2 separate regions of the Homo sapiens genome follow, and region 2 is linked to region 1. The links are contacts of gene promoters, found by promoter capture Hi-C in human tissues and cell types (Jung and others, 2019). All regions are on one chromosome and are shown on one strand. Each heading gives the region's core, a stretch centred on a gene start or on the middle of the fragment in contact. The rest is flanking DNA. Distances are from core to core; before and after follow the strand shown. Region 1 holds the start of ZNF354C (zinc finger protein 354C). Region 2 overlaps ZFP2 (ZFP2 zinc finger protein).

Region 1 (6,669 bases), core at 2,567-5,066:
AGCTGCACAGGTAGCAGCCTAAGAGCAAATGGTAGCCCGTGGTTAAAGTTTGCACCAGATTTTCAAAGGTGTCAGACTCTCAGTTAGTCTTTCTCAGATCTGGACGAGGGGAGAGCCTCAGAGAAAGCCTATTCACATCTGTTGTTGACTGCACTTCATTTCCTCAACAGATGCAAGTCTCCTCTACAAAAGACAGCTTTTCAGGACTATTCCTGTCTGCAAGCTCTCTGAATAGCCATCTCAAGATATGTCAGGGAAGTATGTTTTGGAGTGAATTATTTTGGTTGCCTTCACACTCATCTCTATCTCAAAACGTATTTATTCCTCTTATTATCTTTCCTCTCTCTCTTCCAGTAAAATTCAAGCTGCATTTGTGCACAGGTTTTGCCAGTTTTGCCCACTGGTGTATTTCCAGAATCTGGCACAATGCTAGGCACAGGATAAGTGTTCAACATAATTTTTGTTGTTGCTGAATGAATCAATAATGAAATCCTATACAGTAATGAAAAGGAATGAACTTTGCATGTATCAAGGTAGACTAATCTAAAAGTGTTTGTGTTGAACACATATATACACATGATACATATATGCATGTATATACACATGATATATATACATATATACACATATAGGCATATACACATATATATGCAGAAATCTTTATATAAAGGGTATCTGCTATATACATACATATTGTATATTGTATAAAAGTTGAATACAATGTACAATTGAAACTATACAATTGTATATTGTATGTATATAGCAGATTACCTTTATATACATACATATTGTATATTGTATGTATATAGCAGGTTGTCTTTTTATAAAGATTTAAAATGTTGCAAAAGTAAACAATGTTTAGGGACACATGCATGTGGAGTAATTATCAAACAAAACAAAGGAATGCTGAAAGCAACTCAGGAAAATGACTTGGGAGCACTGTGAACAAGGCTTCCAAATTTTGGGTAAATTTCTCTTTGGTAACCCAAGTGTTGGGTATGTGGGTATTTGTTTTATTATTATTAAACCATGGGCCTCGCACAGTGGCTCATGCCTCTAATCCCAGCACTTTGGGAGGCTGAGGTGGGCAGATCACGAGGTCAAGAGATCAAGACCATCCTGATCAACATGGTGAAACCCCATCTCTACTAAAAATACAAAAATTAGCTGGGCATGGTGGTACGTGCCTGTAGTCCCAGCTACTCAGGAGGCTGAGGCAGGAGACTGCTTGAACCTAGGAGGTAGAGGTTGCAGTGAGCCAAGGTCGCGCCACTGTACTCCAGCCTGGCGACAGAGTGAGACTCCATCTCAAAATAAATAAATAAATAAATAAATAAAAACAAAAATCTGTGCCTATGAATACATTATCTCCTGTGTATGGTACACATTAAAAGAATTTAAAATAACATAACTATCTTGTGGTTTTGATTTGCATTTCTCTGATGATTAGTAATGTTGAACATTTTTCATATACCTGTTGGCCATTTGAATGTCTTTTTGAGAAATGTCTATTCAGGTCCTTTGCCTATTTTTTTTTTTTTTTTTTTTTTTGAGGCAGGGTCTCACTCTGTCACCCTGGCTGGAGTGCAGTGGTGCTATTTTTGCTCACTGCAGCCTCAACCTCTGGGTTCAAGCAATCCTCTGCGCTCAGCCTCCTGAGTAGCTGGGACTACAGGCCTGCACTGGCATGCCTGGCTAATTTCGTTTATTTTTTGTAAAGACAAGGTCTCACTATGTTGCTGAGGCTGCTCTGGAACCCCTGGGCACGAGTGATCCATCCACTTCCGCCTCCCAAAGTGCCGGGATTACAGGCATGAGTCATTGTGCCCAGCCCTTTGCCCATTTTTAATGGGACTCTTTGTATACTGTTGTGGTTTTTTTTGTTTTGTTTTTTCTTTGAGATGGCATCTCGCTCTGTCACCCAGGCTGGAGTGCAGTGGCATGATCTGAGCTCACTGCAACCTCCACCTCCCAGGTTCAAGGAATTCTCCTGCTTCAGCCTCCCAAGTAGCTGGGGTTTCAGGCATGCACCACCACGCCTGGCTATTTTTGCATTTTTAGTAGAGACGGGGTTTCGCCACATTGGCCTGGCTGGTCACAAACCTGTTATTTGAATTCTTTGTATATACTGGGTATTAGTCCTTTGTTGGATGAGTAATTTATAAATATTTTCTCTCAAGTTGTTGCTTCACTCTGTTGTTTCTTTTGCTGTGCAGACACTTTTTAGATTAATATAGTTGTTTATTTTTCTTTTTGTTGCCTGTGCTTTTGAGGTCTTAGCCACAGACCTCAAAAGCACAGGCAAGAAAAAGAAAAATCTTTGCCTAGATCAATGTCCTGAAGAGTTGTCCCGATGTTTCCTTCTATCAGTTTTATAGTTTGGAGTCTTTAAATCTTTAATCTATCTGGAGTTGACTTTTATATATGTTGAGAGAGAAGGGGTCCAAGTTCATTCTTCTGCATATTATTATCCAGTTTTCCCCAGAACCATTTATTAAAGACGTAGTCCTTTCCTCATTGTGTGTTCTTGGCACCTTTGTTGAAAATCAGTTGGCTGTAAATGGGTGCACTGATTTCTGGGTTCTCTTATTCTGTTCCATGGGGGGGTGTGTGTGTCTATTTTTATACAAATATCATGCTCTTTTGGTTACTAACACTTTCTAATTAGATATAAGCTCACTCCAGTTAGAATGATTATTATTATAAAGACAAAAAAATGACAGATGCCAGTGAGGATTTGGGGAAAAGGGAACTCTTATACACTATTGGTGGGAATGTAAATTAGTACAGCCACTATGGAAAACAGTGTGGAGGTTTCTCAAAAAACTAAAAATGGAACTACCATACAATCCAGCAACCCTACTACTGGTAAAGGGAGAGAAATCAGTATATGAAAAGGATACCTGCACTCACGTTTGTCACTGCACTATTTGCAGTAGCCAAGATATAGACTCAACCTACCAGCAATAGATGAATGGGTAAAGAAAATGTCATACATAGACACAATGGAATACTATTCTGCCATAAAAATGAATGAAATAATGTATTCACAGCAACATGGATGGAGCCGAAGGTCATTATGTTAAGTGAAATAAGCCAGGCACAGAAAGACAAGTACTGCATGTTCTCACTTATATTCGGGAGTTAAAACACTTGATCTCATGGACATAGACAACAGGAGGATAGATACCAAAGGCCAGGAAGGCCAGAAAGGAAGGGGAATGAAGAGAGGTTGGTTATGGGTACAAACATACAGTTAGATGGAAGAAATAATTTCTAATATTTAATAGCAGACTAGGGTGACTATACTTGGCAATAATATTGTGTATATTTCAAAGTAAATCGAAGAGAGGGCTTGAAATGATACCAACGCATAAAAATGATAAATGCTTAAGGTGATGGATACCCCAAATACTGTGACTTGATGATCATTACAGTCTATGCACGTAACAAGCACTCACATGGACCCTATACATTATGTAAATTATTTTGTATCAACAGAAAAGTAATCACAACCAGCGGTGGGAGCTACAGCACACTGATCCTCCTAAATGAATCTAATTTCCGGTTTTGTTTTTTCAAACTACTCCGCTTGCTTAACAAGTGCGCGGGCTGTAGGCAGCACGGCCAGCAGCTGGAGACCTCCTGCCTCGTGTGCGGCGTGCGTACTCCCTCGCACTGCAGCCCCTCCGCGCACTGTCGCCTTTGAGAGCTCTCGTTGGCGGAGGCGGTTCCTCTCCCGGAGTTCGCAGCGCGCACCGCGGCGTCCCCTGGGAAGTGTAGTCGGCGTGGGGCCGGAGGCATGCCGGGAGTGGTAGTTCTCCCGCGGTTGGCGGGGTTTCGGGGACAGCTCGCGGCCTTTCGGGGGTTCTCCTGGCTTGGGCCATCCAGGCTTGGCTAGGATTGCCGGCCTGGGGTTGAGGCGCTCGCAGTGGTCTCTTCCGGGCCGGGGTGGATCCGGGCCTCTCCAGCGAGTGGGCGGCGTGCAGCCTCGTCTGGGCTTCTGGGACCAGCCCTACGCGGCTCGGGCCCCTTGGCCACTGGGTCCCGGGGCGCCGTCCGCGAGCGGCCTGGACTGCCGGAGACCCGCGGGAGGGAGCGCCTCGCCAGGTGAGCTGGGTGCGCCGGGCCGCTGGGGTGGGGATGCCAGCCTTTTGTCGTTGTTCATTCTGCGATTTTCTTCTGTGCATTTTCTTCTGAGTAACGGAAATAATAAAAGCAATAGCTGATGCCCGCCGAGAGCGCTCGGGTGCCAGGCACCAGACTAGCGCATCGCCCGAACGAACTCCGCGCATCCCTGCTAACAGATAGGGTGGCGGTACGCTGTTCCCGCTCTGTCAGGAGGAGACCGAGGCAGAGTGGCGAGGTCATTGCCCCAGATGTAACTGGGGCCTGGGGCTAGGATCAGGATTGCCTTCCCGGCCCTTATGACTTTGGGCAGGTCACGACCTCCTGGTTTTCAGTCTCCGTAACATCTGTAAATGTGAAGATTGAAAATACTGCGTGGAAAACACTCACCGCTTCCTGGGAGGAGGTGCGCTTCGTCGCGTAACCGAGGCCTTGTGTGGCAGCTTCCCCTGGGCTGGTCGAGGCACCCGCTGGAACTGGCCTGGCAGAGCCCCAGGTTGGCTCCATGCTAGGGGGCACCCTGAGTCGCCGCTGCAGATCGCGGGCCTGGAGGCCCTCACACTTGCCCGGCTGCCCCAGGCAGCCTCTTCCCTTGCTTTCTGTGGGGCGGGCACGGTTTCCACCTCTCCCACCTGGGGTTGGTGTTTGGGCAGCGACGGCTGTTTCTGGTTGTGGGTGCCATTAGAGGCGGCACCTGTGGAGTATTAGGAGGGACAGCAAAGCTCTGGCTTTGGGTGGGGACAGTGCCTTAATCCTGTTACCTTGGGTAAAGTGTGGTAAGGCCCGACGAAGATCTAGTAAAGAGGCTGGGAAAGCTGAGTGGTTGGATTATGCTCACAGTTTCTTGGGGAGAACACAGCACTCCACGGAAGGACCACTCAGGGCGAGCAGTGGGGTCTGTCACCAGGGTAGGGATGCGGGGAAGCCTCTTTATCGTGGCTACCATAGGGAGGAAAGGGTGAGGCAGGGCAGGCAGGATGAGGATCAGCTAGCTAGGCTGGGAAGTGGCGCCCCAGGAGACTGGATATTCATTGCGACTTTTAGGTGTGCAGTTCAAAGCTAGCGAAGGACTCCAGACATCCATGGGGGAGTCACGGTTTGCCTAGAGGTAGCTGAGAGGCCCGAAGGTGGAAGTTAAAGAGTCCAAGTGCAGAAATAGAAGTAGGGTTGGCACATTGCCCTAGTAAACTAGTAAACACTCTTCTTGCTTTACATCATTACGGGGGGTGGCTTTTTTGAGACCTGATGGACATTATGGGCGGTTGTAACTTCCTCTCTCCAAGCCATCTCCTGACGCCAGGGTTCCTCTTGACACCTTTTTCCTCTGCAGACCCACCGTGTCCACACTCTGCTCTCCCTGGGCAGGAAGACTGAGGAGGAAGGGATGGCTGTGGATCTGCTGTCTGCTCAGGTGAGAGTGAGTGAAGGTTGTCTTTTTCATCAGTTGGCTTCTGGATTCAGAGATGGTAGACATGTTTCCAGACTTTGTCCAGGTACTTTTTGGTCCAACCAAAACGATGAAGAATCCGGAACCTCAAAAGTTTTTCCCAGTGTCTTGGGCTTAGCAAGGGGCTGCTGAGGAATGTGCCTCTTTTGTCCCGAGACTACTCTTAATTCACCCCGCTCACTCTGTGATCCACATTTGAGGCAGTTCTGAGCATATGCTTCCCACTACACTGGTGCTGGGTGGGGAGAATGGGGCATGAAGCAGTCTCTGTCTTCATAGAGGATATAGTCACACTTGGGGCTAAGATGTGGAAGGGCCGGAAGACAGCCTCCACAAGCATTTATTGAGCCCTATGTACAGGATCCTGTGCAGCACACGGGATGGAAAGAGGAAAGCTGTCATTTCCATCTTCTGGGAGTTCGTGGTATCGATCTTAGGAAACATGATTAAATGTTCAGGGGAAATATCCCAGAAGTGGGGGCATTCTGAGTTTATACTGGAGGCCAGGACTGATATTGGTGCTTAGAGAAGACTAAGGGCATCCCAGAAGGAGTTCAGCGTGGTTTGGGCTTTGAAGCCCAGAAGGAGGCAGGCCTGGGGCCTTCCCCTCCCAGTGCAGCGGGGATGTTAAGCTGTCCAAATGTCCATCTCACCTGTCTGATTGATTCCTCTATTTCCTTCTCTGATTCTTTTCTTTTTTCTCTGCTAGTTTAGCCTCTCTACCTGGGCTCTTTTTTCTTGTTCTTTCCCCATTTAAGATCCATTTTCATTACTTTAACCCTCAGCGTTCTGAGTATCTTCCCCAAATCTGTCCTCAGGCCTGACCTTTTTCCTAGCATTCCTGTCTGTCATTCCGACGTGGAAGTCCCATCTTTCCTTCAACACCAGCTCCCTTTCCTCTAGTCCCCTCCCTTCTGTGCATTTTTTCTGCCATACTCCAAAGCCTATTCTTCATTGACTCCTTTTCCAATAGCCCATAGGCTGGAAATGTGGACTCAGGAGCTTGACTTCATGGCTTCAAATCCAAGCTAGGGATGTAGCCCTGAGCAAGTTATTTTATCTCTCTGTACCCCATTTCCTCAATTTTGGTGGGG
Region 2 (6,076 bases), core at 3,567-6,066, 140 kb before region 1:
TCGCTTTCTTCCCTTGCCCTGCTGTGTTGTTATTTCCTAGTATATTTAGTAAAACTAGAAACTTCTGTATCCTGGCCTAATTTTCTTTTCAGCATCATTTCTTTTCTCTGTACTAAAGCTTTGTACAGTTGAAAGCATTGTTAGATTTTTGCTCCTGTTTTACAAAAGATGAATAGAAACTGCAAATCCAGAAGTGCTGTCCCTGGTGCCAGTATTTTCATTGTAAACTGACTAATTTTGAGAAAAGATAGAAATTTTTAGTAATGTGGAAAGCAGTGTCTTTTAGCCTCTCATCAATAGCAATTAGATTTAAATCATTTAATCATATTCAGTTATGAAGGAGATAAAAATTAAGAACATGAATAAAGTACTATCAAAGATTATGTGTAAAAATACAGTTGGGGATTCTATAATCTTTTTAGCTCTCCAGGAAGCCACCCTAACCATCCCTAAACATAGGAGCCTGCTGTCTGTGTTTCACACATGATTTTTAAAAATGTGGCCGGGCGTCGTGGCTCACACCTGTAATCCCAGCATTTTGGGAGGCTGAGGCGGGCAGATCTCTTGAGGTCAAGAGTTCGAGACCAGTCTGGCCAACATGGTGAAACCCCGTCTCTACTAAAAATACAAAAATTAGCCAGGTATGGTGGCACGTACCTATAATTCCAGCTACTCAGGAGGCTGAAGCGTGAGAATCACTTGAACCCGGGAGGTGGAAGTTGCAGTAAGCCGAGATCATGCCACTGCACTCCAGCCTGGGCAACAGAGCAAGACTCCATCTCAAAAAAAAAAAAAATTTTCAGAGATGTACTGGATAACTACTTCTGCATATATGTATGTCTGTCCATGTAAATATATGTGTACATATATAGAGAAACATACACAGAGAATTTATATAGTTAAGAGTCTCTATCTGCCTGCATGCTCACATGAGCCTCACTGATGTTTAATACGTACACATATCTTTGCTTTCGTTACTAGGAAAACTGATCTAAAATACTATAATGAATGTAGAAGTATTCAAAAAGTTCATTCTTCCTTAAATAAGACAGGCCCACTGCTGCCTCAGGGCCTTAGCACTGGCTGTTACCCTGTCTGGGAAGCTTTCCCTTAGATAGTCCTATGACTTCCTCTCTTAGTCCCTTAAAGTCTTGGTTTAAATGTCACCTTTTCAGTGAGGCCTTTTCTTATGACCCACTTTAAAATTGCAGACGTTTTCTCTCACCCATCATGTTCCCTATATCCATTTAAATGCTTTTATTGTTTTTCTGTAAGGTATACCACTTACTTATTGTCTCCCTTTCTCTTGCTAAAATATGTTTCATAAGGGCAGACATTTTTTCTGTTTATTGCTATATCCTGAGCACCCAGAACAGTACCTGGCTTGATAAGTATTTATTGAATGAATGATTTATCGTGTTCATAAAACCAGTTTGACTGCTATATGGAGAGAATGCATTGTAGGGTAGCAAGAGTTTAAATAGAAAATCCAGACAGGTGGGTATAGAAATAGTCTAGTTGGGTGTTAGGAGTAGCTAACTGTTACCCAGAGGATGGAAGAAATATAAAAGGAGAAAATAAATAAATCAACTTGCCCTTTTCAAGAAGCATGGGACCTGCTTGCTGCCCAGTCCCATCCCACACACCCATACTGTGCAAGCTCCCAGCCTCTGCTATGGCTTGTGCCAGCCGTGTGTACTAAGGGGTCTGTGACAGACCAGACACCTTGGTCTGGAGACTCTAGTTCATGTCCTGGTGAGTATCAGAGTTATATAAATCCTATAAGTTAACGAGTGAAGGCAGAAAAAGCATTCCAAGCCGTTAAGGGAGTATTGAGTATTTCCAGTATTATTACTCAAAAGTCTTGTTTAGGAAAAAAGGAAAGGCAGAGAGAACTGTATGTTGCTTAATGTAAAATAGTAATGATGGTAATGATAACAGCTAATAATCACTGGATCCTTATTACATCCAAGCATAATGCTTTGTGCTTTATAAAGTCCTTATTTAATGAGATAGTAAAATGTCAAGGATCTGAAACATTGTTTAATCCTGGAAGAGCTACAGTTTCTGACCTATACTGCTCAGGCTCCAAGCCCACAATACTCCATCAATTCTGAGTAAAGCCCCCCTAACCGTTTTTCATTTTGTAGGTAGACAGTTATATAATCTGGGAAAAATTAAAAATTTCCCCCCATCTCAGTGGCCATATTGGTCACACTTCTGGAATAACATTAAATAGTAGTAGTAATAGTAAGCACCTTTTCCTTGGTTCTGTTATTAGAGAGAATTCTTCTAGGGCTTTATTTGTATTCTTGGTGCAATGCTAATATTTTTGTTTTTGAACACGAATGGATGAAGGATACCAGTTGAATACTTCTGAACCATCTATCAGGTTGATCATATGACCTATGACCTATTAATATGATAGTAATAGATTCTTAATAGTGAACCATTCTTTATTTCCTGGATAAATCCTTCTTCGTGCTAGTTATACTCTTGATGTCTAAGTAACCAGCATTGTTTAAAAACATTAAGAGTTCTGGCTCTGATATTACAATGACTTAACAGGGTGGGTCTGCTGGTGACAAATTCTCTTAGTTTTCTTTCATATGAGAATGTCTTTATTTCACCTTCATTCCTGAAAGATTTTTGCTAATATAGAACTCTAGGTTTATGGTTATTTCTTTCAGCACTTTGAAATAATTAATCCACTTCCTTCTGGCATCCATGGTTTCTGATGAGAAATTCAGTTATTCACATTTTTGCCCTGCCACCAAGTAGTGTATCAATTTTCCCTGGTTGCTTTCAAGATTGTTTTTTACTTCCATTTTTAGAATTTAATTATGGCTGGGCATAGTGGTTCACACCTGTAATCTCAGCACTTTGGGAGGTGAAGGCAGGTGGATCACTTGAGGCCAGGAGTTTGAGACTGGCCTGGGCAAAACATGGCGAAACCCTTTCTCTGCAAAAAATACAAAACTACCTGGGTGTGGTAGTGCATGCCTGTAGTCCCAGCTACTTGGGAGGCTGAGGAGGCACGGGAATCGCTTGAACCCAGGAGGTGAAGGTTGCAGTGAGCCAAGGTTGTACCACTGCACTTCAGCCTGGGCGACAGAGTGGACTCTGTCTCAAAAGAAAAAAAAAAAAATTTGATTATGATGCATCTGGGCGTGGATTTCTTTGGGTTTACCCTGTTCCTATAGGTTGAAATCTTCTGTCAAATATAAGCTTTTAACCATGATTTCTTCAAATACTTTTTCAGCACCAAACATTTTCTCCTTCTCTGGGACTCCAGTGAGACATATATGAGATCTTTTGTTGTTGTCCCATACATCCCTGAGGTGCTCTTCATCTTTATTTTTTCTCAATCTTTTCTCTCTGTGTTGTTCAGATTGAATAATTTCTTTTAATCTGTCTTCAAGTTAATTCTTTCCTTTTTTCACCCTTCTGCTGTTGGACCTATTTAGCAAGATTTCTATTTTCTATATCAATAAATAAGTGTTTATATATTAAAAATACTGTAGGGCTAGGTGTGGTGGCTCACACCTGTAATCCCAGCACTTTGAGAGGCCAAGGCTGGTGGGTCACGAGGTTAGGATTTCAAGACCAGCCTGGCCAACATAGTGAAACCCCGTCTTTCCTAAAAATACAAAAATTAGCCGGGCATGGTGGCGTGTACCTGTAGTCCCAGCTACTCAGGAGGCTGAGGCAGGAGAATCGCTTGAACCCGGGAGGTAGAGGTTGCAGTGAGTCGAGATCGCGCCACTGCACTCCAGCTTGGGCAACAGAGTGAGACTTCGTCTCAAAAAAAAAAAAAAAATTGTATATTTTTCACTTCCAGAATTTCCACTTAGTTCTTTTTATATGCTCATTTTCTTTGCTGAGATTTTATTTCCATTTCTTTAGAGTGTGTTCACTCTGACTTGTTGGAACAAGTAAGGCAGATGCTTTAAAGTCCTTGTAAGATAATTGTATCATCTCACTTGATGTCTGTTGGTTATCTTTTCCCATGTAAGTTGAAATGTTCCTGGGTCTTTATATTCTCAGTGACTTCAAAAGGTATCATGGGCATTTAGAATATTATGTTATAAAACTCTATGTCTTCTTGAAATCCAACAGAAAATGTTGATATTTCTGTGTTAGCAGGCAGTCAACCTGGTTGAGCTCAGACTACAAAGTCCAACCAGCTTTCTGTGGGTTGTGGTTTCTGTGTCAGTTTGGTTGTCAGAGACTTCACATTGTTGCTTGAATCTTGCTCACATGTGTGTCACTCTGTGGCCAGTATGGAATTTAAGCAGCGGTCCCTCTTATTCTCAAAGTCCACGTGTGCTGCTTAGGGGGTCAGATTCATGCATATGTATCTCGCAGGTGAGCCCAGGAGTTCTTAAATAACTTCCAAGGTCATGTTCCCGAATTCTCCCCTGTCTATGTCCGCAGTAGTTTCAGCTTCCCTGTGGCTGTCCTTTTGACTCTTCTGGCTACAAGGCAGGGGCCTGTAGTTGCCCCGCTCTGCTGTGACTTCCAGTGACCATCCCTATGTAGAGCCAAGCAGCAGGAGGACAAAGAAAAGATGATGAAGTGGGGCTTCTTGCTACCCTTCTTGGGACCACAGATCCCTTGCTTGGGGAAGAAGGACCCTCTCCTCATGTTTTTGAGCTCCTGTCAGCTTGCAGTGGCACTGCTGTTGCAGCAGCCACCAGAGGATTGCTTAAGTGCTGGGGTGCAATAGAACAGAGAAAGGGGAAAAAATAGGCAATTCCCCCTGCTCTCTCTAAGCATTAGAAGTCCTTTTCCTGCTCCATGAACCGGCCCTAGAGCTTTTCCTGGAGAACCTCCTCTGCCTTCTCCTGCCTCAGTGCCTGTTTTCAGATGGCTGTATAAGTTTAGTACAGAAGACAGCTGAGGAAAAAAAGGAAGCTCACCACTGGTTCAGTGGTACTTTGGATTTTGGTTCTCTTCCCCAATTCACCTGCTACTGTTTACTTCTCAGGGCCTTCAAATAATTGCTTCATGCTTTCTGTTCGGGTTTATCAGTGGAAGAGACATGGTGGAATAGGCCTACTCCACCTTATCAGGAAGAGGATCCTCTACTTTGGTTTTAATTTGATCTTTGTCTAACTTCTTAAGGTGGAAACATAGGTCACAGATTATGGGCCATTCTTATTTACTGTAAAAACATTTAAAGCTCCTTCCGCAGGCAGGAGAGTCAGCTAGCCACCCAAGAAAACATCATGAAAGATACCGATATCAAGAGACTACTGTATACCCATCTTTTATGCATATTTTCAATTATCCTAAGTGTCTTCATTCCATCACTCTTCTTGGAGAACTCCTCAATATTGGAAACACACTTGACATGGTTGTGCGTCTGTTCTGGTTTTGTAACTGCTGTCAGTCTAGTACTATATTTAGTAGTGAAACCAAATACATCCTCTAAAATAAGTTCATTATCATACAAGGTAACCAGATTTTTGAAATGCTGTATCTACTTTCTTATGTCTTGTTTCTCCTTTCATGTAATTTTTGTTCTATATGGAGCACCACTAATAGAGTTGGCATTGGAAACATTTTTATTTGCAGTTATTTTGTCTACTTTTACTATTGTGCCTTACTTATGTTTGTTAGGACCAAACCTCAAAGCATGGCTAAGAGTTTTCAGTAGAAATGGAGTTACATCCATATGGGAGAATAGTCTCCAGATCACTGCAATGTCTAGTTTTGTAGGAGCATGGCTTGGAGCACGTCCTATTCCTTGACAGGGCAAGAGCATGGCAGGTATGGCCCATCTCCTGTACGCTTGGAGCGACCTTTGTCCACGTGGCTGGCCTTGTTATTTCACCACTCTGGATATACTGGAATAGAAAGCAACTTACATACAAGAACAATTAACTGGAGCAAAGGGAGATATTTCTTTGTGCAGATTCTGTAAGGGCTGTGCAGAAATGTGTGTGGTCAAAGCCAAGCAGTTCCATTTACAGCACTGTTTTTTATGTAGTTACAACATGATGTGATTGTAGCTTTTTAAACTATGAAACCCCTGAGAGATTGTACCTTCTAGTTGAAATAAAGTATTTAT

Evidence for each region. The method cuts DNA at HindIII sites, captures the fragments that hold promoters and counts their contacts. A contact is called where the count stands out against the background at its distance.
Region 2: a contact is called between a fragment that was not itself captured here and the fragment with the promoter of ZNF354C in region 1, in 2 of the 25 tissues and cell types used here (H1 embryonic stem cells and dorsolateral prefrontal cortex).

What each region holds. Positions count from the first base shown.
Region 1 is chr5:179,056,557-179,063,225 of GRCh38, forward strand. It overlaps ZNF354C (zinc finger protein 354C), which reads left to right and starts at 3,817. Exons shown (of 5, transcript NM_014594.3): 1 at 3,817-4,110; 2 at 5,459-5,539. The coding sequence starts at 5,513. RefSeq lists an enhancer at 4,136-4,671. The HindIII fragment of the contact is 19,620 bases long and covers 1-6,669 here.
Region 2 is chr5:178,916,833-178,922,908 of GRCh38, forward strand. The region is part of intron 4 of ZFP2 (ZFP2 zinc finger protein); the gene reads left to right. It also overlaps the pseudogene PIGFP1. Among named protein-coding and RNA genes, the nearest start is that of ZNF454-DT, 21 kb to the right of the region's middle. The HindIII fragment of the contact is 5,302 bases long and covers 2,166-6,076 here.